Regions from separate parts of the Homo sapiens genome. Here regions 1 and 2 are each linked to region 3. The links are contacts of gene promoters, found by promoter capture Hi-C in blood cells and fetal thymus (Javierre and others, 2016). All regions are on one chromosome and are shown on one strand. Each heading gives the region's core, a stretch centred on a gene start or on the middle of the fragment in contact. The rest is flanking DNA. Distances are from core to core; before and after follow the strand shown.

The links. Contacts are between HindIII fragments. The CHiCAGO score rates a contact against its expected background, and 5 or more counts as called.
Region 1: the fragment with the promoter of PGM2 here is called in contact with the fragment with the promoter of PGCKA1 in region 3 in 1 of 17 cell types (endothelial precursors); the score reaches 5.6 in endothelial precursors.
Region 2: a fragment that was not itself captured here is called in contact with the fragment with the promoter of PGCKA1 in region 3 in 3 of 17 cell types (naive CD4 T cells, naive B cells and endothelial precursors); the score reaches 7.3 in naive CD4 T cells.

The regions. Positions count from the first base shown.
Region 1 is chr4:37,823,849-37,828,559 of GRCh38, reverse strand. PGM2 (phosphoglucomutase 2) reads right to left here and starts at 1,874. Exons shown (of 14, transcript NM_018290.4): 1 at 1,747-1,874. The coding sequence starts at 1,827. RefSeq lists enhancers at 1,202-1,701, 1,702-2,203, 3,236-3,405 and a silencer at 1,692-1,991. The HindIII fragment of the contact is 6,567 bases long and covers 1-4,612 here.
Region 2 is chr4:37,777,627-37,781,947 of GRCh38, reverse strand. No RefSeq gene overlaps it. Among named protein-coding and RNA genes, the nearest start is that of PGM2, 47 kb to the left of the region's middle. The HindIII fragment of the contact is 673 bases long and covers 2,009-2,681 here.
Region 3 is chr4:37,451,116-37,455,582 of GRCh38, reverse strand. It overlaps PGCKA1 (PDCD10 and GCKIII kinases associated 1), which reads right to left and starts at 1,658. Exons shown (of 4, transcript NM_001104629.2): 1 at 1,543-1,658. It overlaps LOC124900691 (a long non-coding RNA gene), which reads left to right. Exons shown (of 3, transcript XR_007058098.1): 2 at 1-103; 3 at 489-1,266. The HindIII fragment of the contact is 3,173 bases long and covers 1,260-4,432 here.

The DNA.
Region 1 (4,711 bases), core at 625-3,124, 370 kb before region 3:
AAGAGCAGGGATGAAGGCACGGTGGAAAGACAGAGGGCACCTGCCAGGGCGCCTTGCCAGTCGCCGGGGGTAGTCTGACTAGAGGGCTGCAATGCTTTTAGCTGGTGGGAGGTTCACTGGAGAATGAATGGGCTTCTTCTCAGGTGCCAGTCTCAAAGCAAAGAAGAAATTAACAGAGGATAGAACATGAGAAGTGATTAAAAAAAAAAAAGGACATCTCATCTCTACCCAGAGAAATACAATTTTTCTATACACAGATGCAACACTGTGTAGAAATTAGATTGTTTTCTTCTTCTTCTTAGAGAAAGTGCATTATGAACTCTGACTTCAAAAGAATTCTGTACTCTGCAAGCTACAAGTTATCAGAAATGGAAACATTTTTCTTCCCTTGTGAATCACAAGGTTATCTTCCCAGGAAAAGAAAAACGCCCCCAAGGAGTTGCCAATAGCATCCTGGAAATGGGATTTGCTGACATTTTATTTGTAGGGGCCAGAGAATGGTAAATAAAGACAAAGACCTGACCCCTACTGACCTTGTAATCTTCTTTGTTCATTCAAGTATTTCAGTGACCTACTATGTGTCATGCACTATGCCTATGCCAGGCACTACAAACCAAGGTAGTGAGAATAGAGAGGCCTGGCCACATAATTTATGGAGGTCCAGTGCACAATGAAAGTGGGTGACCTCTTGTTTTACCAGTAAGACTTTCAAGACAGGACAGCAGGACATTAAAACAACAGTGGGCCCTTCAAGGAGCGCGAGTCCTGTGAGACTGCAGGGGTCTCTCGCCCCTGAAGTCGGCCCTGGAGACAGACATTAAACAAACCTACAAACAAGTGTTTTTGGAGTTTTTTGTTTTTACCATTTGTAGTAAGAGCTATAAAGGAAAATAACAGACTGTTTAGAGTGAATATTAGGGATAAATAATTTAACGCTTCGGAGCCAAGGAAGGACTGACTCTCTACGTAAGCCACATTTAAGTTCAGGCACAAAATATGAGTCACAACGGGAGAAACAAGTTCAGCAGGAGAGCAGCGAGGGACATTCCGAGAAAACCTAACAGCAAGCAGAACAGGTCGAAAGGGCGAGACGCAAGTTTATAGAGAGGAGAGGGAGTGATGTCCAGAGCTGGGTTCCTGATTCTAAGAAACGGAATGAAGAGAGAGAAAACCGTGCTGTGTCCCAGGTGTGCCTCCCTGGCAGTCAAAGTTCTAAGGGGGACTCCTGAAGCCAGGCGGGCCCACCCGGGAGGACAACCCACGTTTGTAACCAAGCCCTCGGGATGGGAGGACCGGACCAGAACGCTGCTCTGCAAAGGTCTCAGCGGCCAAAGGAATACGCGGGACGGAGCGATTCTGGGTCCATGGGGATGCACAGCCGACTACCGACGACGAGCCAGCGGTCTGAGTGACAGTAAGGCGTGCGCCCCTCAACTAGACAGCGTCCAGGGTCTGGCCGCGCTTACACCACCCTGGCTCGCTCCTCTACTCCGAACTTGCAGTCCGGCCGGCCGGATGGCTGGTTTCGTCCGGGGACAAGCCTTCCCGGCCTAACTCTGAACGTGCCGCATGCCGGCCAGGTCGAAGGAAGCCTAGCAGCGGCCGTACGCTCCTGGGTCTTCCCGGGGGAGAAGCGGGATGCACTGGGCGGGAAGGCAGCTCAGGCAGAGCAAGCAGCGCCGCGCCTGGAGAGGGCAGAGCACCCGGCCCCGCTCCAGGCGCTCCCCGCCTGCTGGTGCCCCTCACCTTGTCCCAGCGCAGCCACTGGGCGGTCTCCTGGTCCAGCCGGGCGTCCTCGCCTAGACCGCTGCCTTCTGGAGCCGCCATCGCTGAGCTTGTGCTACCGCTGCAGAGGGAAGCAGGCGGTGAGATCTGCCTTCCGGCCCGGCCCCAAGACGTGGAGGCGGAGGCGGGGGCGGGGAGAGCCGCGGCGGAGCCAGTCGGTCCGGGGGAAAGTGACGCGCGCCGCGGCGGGCACGCCTCCTTGCCGTTTGCGGGTGCGCTGCAGGGGGTGGGAGTGAGCGAGGAGGAATTGCGGGGCTAGGGTGGGTTGCTGGAACCTGGCACGTGTGAGAAGGGTTTGCCATCGTCTCTGATGCATCCAGGCTACAGCCAGCCGTGAGTTCCTGCTGCGCGCCAGGCACATGTCAGATGCTGGGATACCAGGAAGTGCACCCAGATAGGGGCCTGAAGACTATGTAGAAACTCAGAGGGTCAAGAACAGCCAGAAAAAAATCTTGAAAAAGAAAAGCAAAGTAGGAAGACCAGTGGAACATAAGATAGAGACCAGAAACAAAAATACACGTGTATGGACAATTTATTTCAGAGGCGGGGCTGCAGAGCACAGGAAGGAACTATTTTTGGTTAATGGTGCTCGGTCAAAGGGATATCCACGTAGGGAAAAGAAAAAAGGGAACTTGGCCCCCTACCTCCCATCACACACAGCTCTGAACTCCAGATCAATTGTATCTCTAAGTGCGAAAGGTAGTGTAGCAGGAGGAGCCGCAGACAAAACTCCTCAGACACCGGATTAAAGAAGGAAGAGGTTTTTATTCGGCCGGGAGCGTCGGCAGACTCGCGTCTTAAGAGCCGAGCTCCCTGAAAAAGAAATTCCTAGCCATTTTAAGGGCTTACAACGCTAAGGGGTCTGTCTACGTGAAAGGGTCATGATAGATCAAGTAAGCGTGAGGAACGTGACTGGGGGCTACATACATCAGCTAACAGAACAAGAAGTTTTACAGTGCTTTCTCATACGATGTCTGGAATTTACGGATAACGCCAGTAGTTTTGGTCAGGGGTTAATATTATTATTATTATTTTAACCACCAGGGCCAGGTGGTGGCGCCAAGGTCGTCTAGCTATTTATCTTACTTCTGTTTTTTTCCAACTTTTTGCTTTCTCTCTTTTCTCCTGTCTTATAAACTAGGGAAAAGGGGAGGTGGGGGAGAAGCTGGGAAGGACAGCAGAAATGGTGGTCTCTTTCCATAGTAGCGTGAAACTTAGGGAAACTAACATAGGAGCACATCTTCCTGACGCTGGTATCACCAAGCCATAAAGAAGATGCATACCCATAAGCATAAAAAAGCACGGGCAAGAATATTTCTAGCAGCATTATTTGTAAAAGCCTCAAACTGGAAACAACCCAGATGACCATCGACAATACAATGGATAAATACTTGGTAGTATATCCATACCAATTCATATAAATAAATCATGGCACATTGATAGAGCAATGCAGGTGAACTACTGTTATACACAACATCATGAATGAATCTCACAAACACTGAGTGACAGAGTTCAAACACCCACCCCCATACCCCGTCACCCCAAAATACTGCATCATTCATCTGTAGTCCCAGCTATTTCGTGGTGGGGGAGCTGGAGGGAGTCCTGAGGAGGGAGGATCGCTTGAGCCTGGGAGGTCGAGGCTGCAGTGAGCCCTGATTGTGCCACTGTTCTCCAGCCTGGGAGACAGAGGGAGACCCTGAAAAAAAAAAAAAAAAAAACACTGAAATATATAAAATTATAGGTAAAGGAAACAAATCAGTGATTTTCAAGAGCTGGGGGTTGGGGGAGGGGTTGACTACCTAGGGCACAAGGGAATTTGAGGGAGTTGTGGAACTGTTCCGTATCTTGATTGAGTTTGGGGTTTACTTTTATCAAAACTTATAGAACTGTACGATATAAAGGGTAAAATTCACTGTATGTAAGTTATATCTCTTTTTTTTAAGTTTTAAGATTAAAAACTAAAAAGGAGGCAAAACTAACCTATGGATGTCAGCAGAGTGGTAGCTTTGGGAAGGAGGGAAAGTGCCTTCTGGGGTTCCGGGACTGTTCTGTTTCTTGACCTGGACGATGGTCAACAGGTGTGTTGACTTTGTAATATTCACTAAGCTGCAATCTTATGAGTTGTGCATTTTCCGTATGTTCTTCAACTTTATTTTATTATTATTTTTTGAGACACAGTGTCGCTCTGTCACCCAGGCTGGAGTGCAGTGGTGTGATCTCGGCTCACTGTAACCTCTGCCTCCTGGGTTCAAGAGATTCTCATGCCTCAGCCTCCTGAGTAGCTGGGATTACAGGGGCGTGCCACCATGCCCGGCTTATTTATTTATTTATTTATTTGAGACACAGTCTTGCTCTGTCACCCAGGCTGGAGTGCAATGGTGGGATCTCAGCTCACTGCAACCTCCATCTCCTGGGTTCAAGTGATTATCCTGCCTCAGCCTCCTGAGTAGCTGGGATTATATGTGTGAGCCACCAGGCCCAGACTTTTTTTTTTTTTTTTTGTATTTTTAGTAGAGAACGGATTTCGCCATGTTGGCCAGGCTGGTCATGAACTCCTGACCTCAAGTGATCTGCCCACTTCAGCCTCCCAAAGTGTTGGGATTACAGGGATGAGCCACCGCGCCCGGCTAGTGTGTTCTTCAATTTTAAAAAGAAAAAATATATATCCAGGATCTGTAATATCTGTTTAGTGTCATGGGAAAGGCATACTAATCATGTAATCACGGCAGTTAATACGTAATTACAAACTGATAAAATGCTGGAAGGAAAGCAGAGAGATGTCATGAGGCTGCAGGTTAACAGAGGCCACCTCAGTCAGGAAGCTTGCCTGAGCACTGGAAGCTTAAGAGAGATGTGAGGGAAGGATGTAGTTAATGTGAGAGTGTGGTCCTTCCCCTGACTGCAAAACCTGAGAGGCTGGAGC
Region 2 (4,321 bases), core at 1,096-3,595, 330 kb before region 3:
GCCGGGCGCAGTGGCTCACACCTGTAATCCCAGCACTTTGGGAGGCTGAGGCGGGCAGATCACAAGGTCAGGAGATCGAGACCATCCTGGCTAACACAGTGAAAACCCGTCTCTACTAAAAATACAAAAAATTAGCCAGGCGTGGTGGCGGGCGCCTGTAGTCCCAGCTGCTTGTGAGGCTGAGGCAAGAGAATGGTGTGAACCCAGGAGGCGGAGCTTGCAGTGAGCCGAGATCGCGCCACTGCACTCCAGCCTGGGAGACAGAGCGAGACTCCGTCTCAAAAGAAAAAAAAAAAAAAATTAATCCAGCCGAATTGAGGGATACACCAACTGACTCATTGTGTTACAATGCTAGTTCAGAAACTCCCAGGCTACCCTTGTTCTATCATTCTCTTTGGAATGATCAGTTTTGTGATTTGTACACAAATCATAGTCCTAATACAGTCTGTGTTTTGCTAACACAGTCCTAGTTTTAGCTAACCACACAGTATCATTTCTGCATAGAAGTAAGAATTCTCATTTTTCCAATGCTTAATTGATTCTTAAGGGAAGAGTACTTCATGTGATAGGATAATTTGGTTTAGATTTATCATGCTGAGCATCTGATAAGACAAATTAGTAACTCTGCCTGTTTGAAAGAATTTAGAAACACAACCAGTTTAGCCACCCCATGTTGTTCAGCCAGTATACAAACCCGTCTTATGTTCTTGGATTTTTCAGAACCTCTCCCTATAGAAAAAAACGCCCTTTTTCTTTGCTTGTTAAGTTCTTTTATCTTGGCACATGTGCTCAGAAATTGTAGGTAATATCTAAAAGGGTAAAGAAATATAAACAAAGCATCCTTCCAAACAAATCTTCATCAAGTAAAGTTTTATTTGATGTTGAGAAGTCTATTTGTCTAGCAGGAACAATGAAGATCAATGGCCCATCCGGGGGCACTCTCTCCCCAGGAAATTGCAGTGGTTTTCAGCCCAGCCTCTTTCTTCTCTTTGCCTGCGTCTCAGCTGGGACAGCTTTGAAAATCTAGAAGCAGCCATAAAAGGACCCACACAGGAAGTTTTCATATTCTACTGAGAAAGGGGACATAGTAAAAAACAGGTCATTTATTTTTACATGCTCCTTTGCCTTTTTCTCCTCTCCTGCTTATTGTCCCATCACAAAAATTGTGAAAAGGAGTAAAATCTTGTCACCTTAAGATCCACCTAAATGTAAAATGTAGAGCAATTGTAGTTACCACTGTTCTGTTCAGAAGCAAACAAGATAATTCACATATGTAAGGTAATATGGTTTGGCTGTGTCCCCACCGAAATCTCATCTTGAACTGTAGATCCCATAATCCCCCTGTGTTGTGGGATGGACTCAGTGGGTGGTAATTGAACCATGGGGGTGGTTATCTTCATGCTGTTCACATGATAGTAAGTGAGTTCTCACAAGATCTGATGGTTTTACAAGGGGTTTTTCCCCCCTTTACTCTGTATTTCTCCTGGCTGCCGCCATGTGAAGAAGGACGTGTTTGCTTCTCCTTCTGCCATGACTGTAAGTTTCCTGAGGCCTCCCCAGCCCTAAGGAACGTGAGTCCATTAAACCTCTTTCCTTTATAAATTACCCAGTCTCAGGTATATCTTTATTAGCAGCATGAGAACAGACTAATACATAAGGGATGTTGTACACATCAGGGACTATAAATCTGTACAGTTTATGTTAGCATGTAAGTGCACAAGCAGTGGTGTAGGTTCTTGGTTTTGTTGTGTGCTGTTTAGTTCAGCCTGATGAAAAATGATATCACTGCATTTGCATAGTGCACAAACTTTCTTTGAGCAAGAACTTCCTTTTCCCTTGGATGGGCCATGGGAGATACTACAAAGGACAAAACAAGCCTTGTGAACCTAGTGAGATGATAGACAGCATTCTTTAGGAGGTTACAAAAGAAGGTCATGAAGAACAACTATTGTCCCTGACCCAAATCCCCTAATAAGGTTTCTAGGAGACTTTAATTCAGCATTAAGCTTCCACAGGACATACTTTAAGAAAGGGTAGAACTGAATGAAGGTCTACTCAGGCTAGCTTTCTCTTTTCTGGCAGCATCATCAGGCACATTGAATTTCACATTTTTTTTTATTTTTTAGTTTTTTGAGACAGAGCCTTGTTCTGTCACACAGGCTGGAGTGCAGTGGCATGATCTTGGCTCACTGCAGCCTCTGCTTCCTGGGTTCAAGAAATTCTCCTGCCTCAGCCTCTTGAGTAGCTGAGATTACAGTCGCACGCCATCATGCCTGGCTAATTTTTGTATTTTTAATAGAGAGGGGGTGTCGCCATGTTGGTCAGGCTGGACTTGAACTCTTGACCTCAGGTAATACACCTGCCTTGGCCTCCCAAAGTGCTAGGATTACAGGCATGAGCCACCGTGCCCAGCTGAACTTCACATATTTTTAAATGTAAAAAACATTTTTAAATGGAAGTCAGTCATGATTTTCTTCACAAACATTTCATTTCACTGCAATTCTAGCTTTTCTCCCCATTAAGAATAGAGAGTGTGTTAGTCCATTTTGTGTTTCTATAAAGGAATACCAGAGACTGGGTAATTTGTTTTTAAAAAAGAAGTTTATTTGTCTCATGGCTCTGCAGGCTGTAGAAGCATGGCATCAGCATCTGCTTTGCTTCAGGGGAGGCCTCAGGAAGCTTTTACTCATGGAAGAAGGTGAAGGGAAAGCAAGTGTGTCACATGAAGAGAGAGGGTGCGAGAGAGAGAGAGAGAGTGGGGAGATGCCACACTCTTTTATACAACAAGATCTCAGCTGAACTTACTACCACTCATTACCTTGAGGAAAGCACCAAGCCATTCATGAAGGATCCATCCCCATGGCCCAGCACCTCCCACTAGGCCCCATCACCAACACTGGGGAATCACATTTCAACATGAGATTTGGAGTGAACAAATATCCCAGCCATATCAAAAGGGTTATTTTCAATTGTTATTGTGAACGTGTTCTCTTCTGTCTTGTCAAAGCTCATTAACACTGCACACTCAATCTGCAGACAAAATGGTGGACAAGATTGTTGAATGGGTCAGTGAATATCCGTCCAAGGCTGAGGCACTTCTGTAGGGCTCAACAAGCTGTGGCAATCAACAACAGTCCAACCGAGCAACACACATATACCATTGAGCCAAGCATGGTGCTCAGCGTAGTGGGAGAAAACAGAGACTAACATGGTGTGTATTTTAAGGAGAAAAGGGGAGGAGGAATTAATACTTATTGTGCACTCACCATATACTTGGCACTGTGCTAGCCATTTTAAAAATACACAAAGAAATTACAGGCCACAGCTGCTGCCCCTAGGAAGCATGCAAGCTAATTGAGGAGTAAAATGCACACACACACACACACGCACACACACACATTTACACACACTACCTTACATTCTTTTTGGAACAAACCAAGGCATAAATAACAAAACAATTACTATGACTACTGCTAACAGCTAATACTTATGGAGTGTTTTCCATGAGCCATGTTCAATTGTAAATACTTTATATGTATTAACTCATTTAATCCTCTCAATTTAATGGGATTGGCCCTATTATTTTTCCATTTTACAACTATGGAAAATGAGGAAGAGAGGTAGGCTGGTAAACAGTAGAGCTGGGGTTTCAACCTGGGCAGTCATGCTGAAGACCCTATACCATTAACCCTACAGACTATGCTGCCTTTGTACATCATGTATGTACATGAAAAGTAAGTTGTGAAATAAAACTATAATCAGGTAGCCTTGCTATCCAATATCAGGAACTGATTAGATGTGTGTGTGTGTGTGTGTGTGTGTGTGTGTGTGTATTTATTTATATTAACATACTGCTTAGGGCCCTCACTATCCATACACTTAATACTTGCTCTTTGAAACTGGGAACCAAATATATTTAAATAATATAAGTATCCCTTGCTACCCAAACTCACTACTAAACCTTCACCATTCAATCTCAGAAACTGAATAATTTGGAAAGGAGTGATACTCGTATAAGGGTCAAATAATTGGAACAAATAATGAACGCAAAAAGAGATGGCAGTTGAAGTAAAGTTCTCAAGGACAAATAGATGTTAGTTCAAAGAAGGAGAAGGCCAGAGCAGCTGAGACATTCAGGTAGGAAATAACAACATGTGTTCACAACAAGTAGATTCGAGAGCCTGTGTATGGAGAGGGGCCAGAGATGAAGCTAGACAGGGACGCAGGGTCTAGATTGTCAGGGCATTGATTGAACTTCACAGTGTAGACAATGGTGGTCATTGGGTAATTTTAAGCAGGTAAGTGATGTGATCAGATTTGT
Region 3 (4,467 bases), core at 409-2,908:
ATTTATCTAAATCTCCGGAGCCATTGAGGACCAAGATCATACTTGCTGAATAAATGCACGGAGCAGGATCAGAGGATAGACACAGAATGGGCCAAGAAGAGAAGTAAGCCACACCTTCCCTTCCTGTCTCAGCATCTGTTCCATTTCTGCTCAGTGACCCAGGCAGCTTGCTGTTAGCTGACTCTTCACACTTTAGGGAAATACAAATAACTCCAGAACTTAACTTTACCTTTGAGCTTCAAATTGTTTCAATTATGTACCTTGTTTCAATTATCTGCCTCCTGACAGTGTTTCACAGCTGGGACCAGTAAGGTGGTCTATGATCTTTAACATCTGTCTTATCCTTCCTAAAATAGTATCAACTGAAGGATTAAATGGGGAAGGGGGAGGGGTAGGCAACAAATATAGACTCTATTATGTTTAAAAGCAGTAACCGCTTTCCATTTCTTTCTCATTCAACTCTCAAATGCTTCTCTTCTTTTCTCCAGATATTATTCCTCATAAGAGCTTGCTTGATTGCAACCACCAAGGACATCCACAAACCAGGGCAAGAAGGACCATCCGTAATTCTTTCCCATAAATAGTGACAGGAAGAAAATAAACGCCCTATTCTTCAATGATTTGAACCACCTCTGGAGCACAAACTTTCTCTAAATTCACAGGGCAAATATCCATCATGGGGCAGGTATCTATGCTGCCATGGAAAGTAACATAAAATGTACTAAGTCATCACAGGGAGTTTTAATTTTGTTTTTAAGGTCAATTGCCATGCTGGGGTAAAAAGCATTGATCCTTGCCTTTTATCACCGGAAAAATTCTTCACCAGTACTTTGTGAAAATCTCGCCTCATCAGGGCTGCCAAGGTCAATGCAACCTAAGTAACCAAGCTGGGAGATGCTTGCCTAATTATTAAATATTTAGCAAACAGTTTGTGACTATTTAACTGTTTGCACCTGGCACCCTCTTTTCACTACGTGAGGCCTCCTGGCACCCTGACCTCTTCCCCCACCCCTACCCACTGCCCAGGCCGCCAGCACCCCTGGGGGGCAAATACCGGGACCCAAGGGCATTTCAAAGAAACAGCAGAGGTCACATTCCATTTCCTTTTTATTAAAAAACATACTTAAAATGGGGGAGGAGGGCACAGATCTAAGGTAAAATCTCTTGCAGTTTTTTCAAGTTCGCATGCACCGTTGAAAGTTCATTAGTTAGGGATTTAAAAGCAAAAATGTTTCACACAACCAATTAAACGCCAAGCTTTACAAACGCCTTGGTCTTTGGTTTTGGGAATCTGTAAAAGTCCGCCTCCCCCCACCCGAGTTTTGCCCCTTTTAGAGCCCCTTTGTTGAATTACGTGACTTTTCCCGAAGTCATCAAACTTTGAATTGCGTCTCTAATTTTTTTTTTCAGGGCAAAAGCAAATCAAGAAATTAAACTTAAAAGTAGGCGACTCGGAGAGAAGTGGGGGAAAGCTCGCCCCAAAGCCAAGTTCCGCAGGACTAAAGCCCTCTTTGCGCGCGCGGGGCGGGGGATTGTCCCTACCTGGGGCCAGACGGCGGCGGCGGCGGCGGCGGCGGGGTCCCGGCGCCCATGGCTTCGCCGGCCTCGGGCAGCCGCGCCGGGAGACGCTAGCGGCTCCGCGCTGCCCTGAGCCCGCCGAGCTCGCAGCGGCCGCCCCAGCGCTGTCATTGGGCCCGCGCGTCACGTGGCCCGGGCTGCGGGTGAGCCTTCCCGACACGCGTAACCCTTTACCTGCACGCCCCGAGGATGCGGCGGGGCTAGGGCTCGAAACCCTGGAGTACGATGTCCGACATCCCCGGGGCCGGGGTGGCAGTCCCGGGCGCACTGAAGCAGAAAATCCACGCGCTTGTTGGCCTCTGAGCACAAACGACCGCGCCAACCGCCTGCCATCACGGGAAACTCCGGGGTGCTTACTCCAATGTTGCGCTGGAGAGAAGGGAGCTTCCTATGATCAAGGGACTGGAGTACGGGGATACACAAAACAAATGCACCCGCTGGCAAATAGTTGTGTACTCCCAAACCCCGAGAACTTGGCATTTTTCAGTTTCCTCCTTATTTCTGGCATTCGCCGCCTAGACCTGCTGTGAGTTCCATGGCCAGCCCTGTATGAGCTACATGGACCTAGAAACAGCGGGGGCGCCACCACCACGATAAAAACCAGGGAAGTTGCACACACTCGCCTGCACCCTAAAGGCCCCAGGGGGAGTTCAATGAACTCCTGGTTCCCCGTCCCCTCCTCACCCACTCCCCCTCCATCCCTTTCTTTTCCTGAGGTCTTAGGGCATTGGCCACAAGACTGCATCCAATCTACTGAGTTCCACATTCGTAGCTGTTACAATCCATATACCTAAGGCGGGTGGAGAACTGACTCTGCTTAAGGACTGGACATTCTTTTCACCTGTGCTCCAAAGCAAATGCTGAGCTTGCCAAAAAAAGTGTTAAGCAACTGCGCCACCTAGCTTACCCTCTTCTCTCTTCTTTTCAACTCATCCAGCAAGAGAATAAAATAGGATATTGGAGAGGCATCTGGACAGAGTATTATCTAAGGATGGACATAGTGTCCTTGGGTTTTCAATGTATCTACTTTAATGATGCCAGCCCCATTCACATGATATTTGCCAGGCTTTTGAGAATTTGAACACTCCATTTTTTGAATCCTTCTAATTTTGCAGTGCTGGGATTGCACGCTGTAAAGTGTTAGATTTTTGCAGGAAGTTATATGTGGTTTTACATCCTTTGTCACAATGAACGGCACTCATGTCCAACTTATAGTCGACACTTAATTGTCTACAGGATATTGATACATTTATCAAGTAGGTTATCTGTCGAAAAAGGGGTTGGTATTTGTATTGGGTTTCATTTTATTTATTTATTTATTATTATTTGAGACAGGGTCTGGCTGTTGCACACAGGCTGGAGTGTGATGCGATCTCAGCTTACTGCAACCTCCTCCTCTGGGGATCAAGGGATCCTCCCACCTCAGCCTCTGGAGTGCCTGGGGCTACAGGCTCATGCTACCATGCTCGGCTAATTTTTGTATTATTATTATTATTATTACTATTATTATTATTATTTTTGTGGAGACTAGGGTGGGGGTGGGCTCTCCTAAACTTGCCCAGGCTGGTCTTGAACTCCTGAGGTTAAGCAATCCGCTCGCCTCGGCCTCCCAAAGTGCTGGGATTGCAAGCTGAGCCACCGCGCGCCCCAGCCTGCCTTAGATTTTAAAGTGCAGTTCCTAGACTAATAGCATCGGCATAATCTGAGAGAATGTAGTAAAAATGCAAATTCTTGGGACCCACCCCAGACGTATTGATTCAGAAATAGTTGGGGAGGGAGGGTGAAGAAATCTGTGTTTTAGCAAGTGGTACCTACTCCAGTTTGCGAACCGTTGCTCTGAATATGCACAGGTAGCTGGCGAAGTTCCCCTCATCTATTAAATAGTAAGGGCTGGCATTCTATAAAGCTAGAGGTGCTGCTTTTATTTGTATCCCTAGATTACCAGTTTTATGTAATCTGTCATGTTGATACACTGAAACTGAACCCTCCATGTGTCCATACAACGTGTAATCTGTACTTCTTGCAGATCTCTTGGAATGCCAAATTGAGATCTGAGGGGCCCTTGTAAAACATATGGAAGAAAAACCTATGGTTTCTTGATGCACACCAGGGTGAAAACACCATGATTCACTTCATTTTTTAGGTGTGCCCATGTTTTCACTGACATGTAAATTGTTCCCAGCCAATGAGTCATGAAAGATAGGAAAGCTAATTTTTTTGAGTGGATTTATCAACATGGTTCCAAATTTGTGAAAGAGTTCTAAAAAACAAACAACATTAAAAACATTATGGTATCCGTTTATGTTATAGCCCAAAAAACTCCCCACACCATATTAGGCATTGCAGTAAGGGCTCCTTGCAATCCATTGCAATCTCCTTACTGAGAAAGAAAGAACTGAGTGGGTTTTTATTTGAGTTTTCTCCATGGGATAGATAGACTATTTCTAATGGGCTAGATGGATGTCTTACTTTTAAACTCTCTAGGTCCAAGTTTGTTTTGTGATTTTCCCCCACTTTCATCCCCTGTTCACTTTACATTTGTAATTCTATCTACTCAATTCCAATTGGAACTGGAATTATTTGAGTTTTCCCTCCCCTTCATCAAACACCTCTATCCATTAAGCCCTGAAATAAATCTTGAATTGCCCCTACTCTAAGCAGGTTCTAAGATCAGGTTCTAACACTTTCTAACTGAGATCATGGCCATGGTCTTTACTGGTCTCCCAGCTTCTGATCTTTTCCATCTGAAAGCCATCTGACAAAGTAACTGCCCTTCCCCAAAACTTTTTTTCCCAGCTCCCTGTTGAAACCAGCGCAATTTTCCAACAAGCCAAATGCCCATAGCACTGAAGCTTGAGAAACTTACACCTGCTGCCTGTTGACCAATTC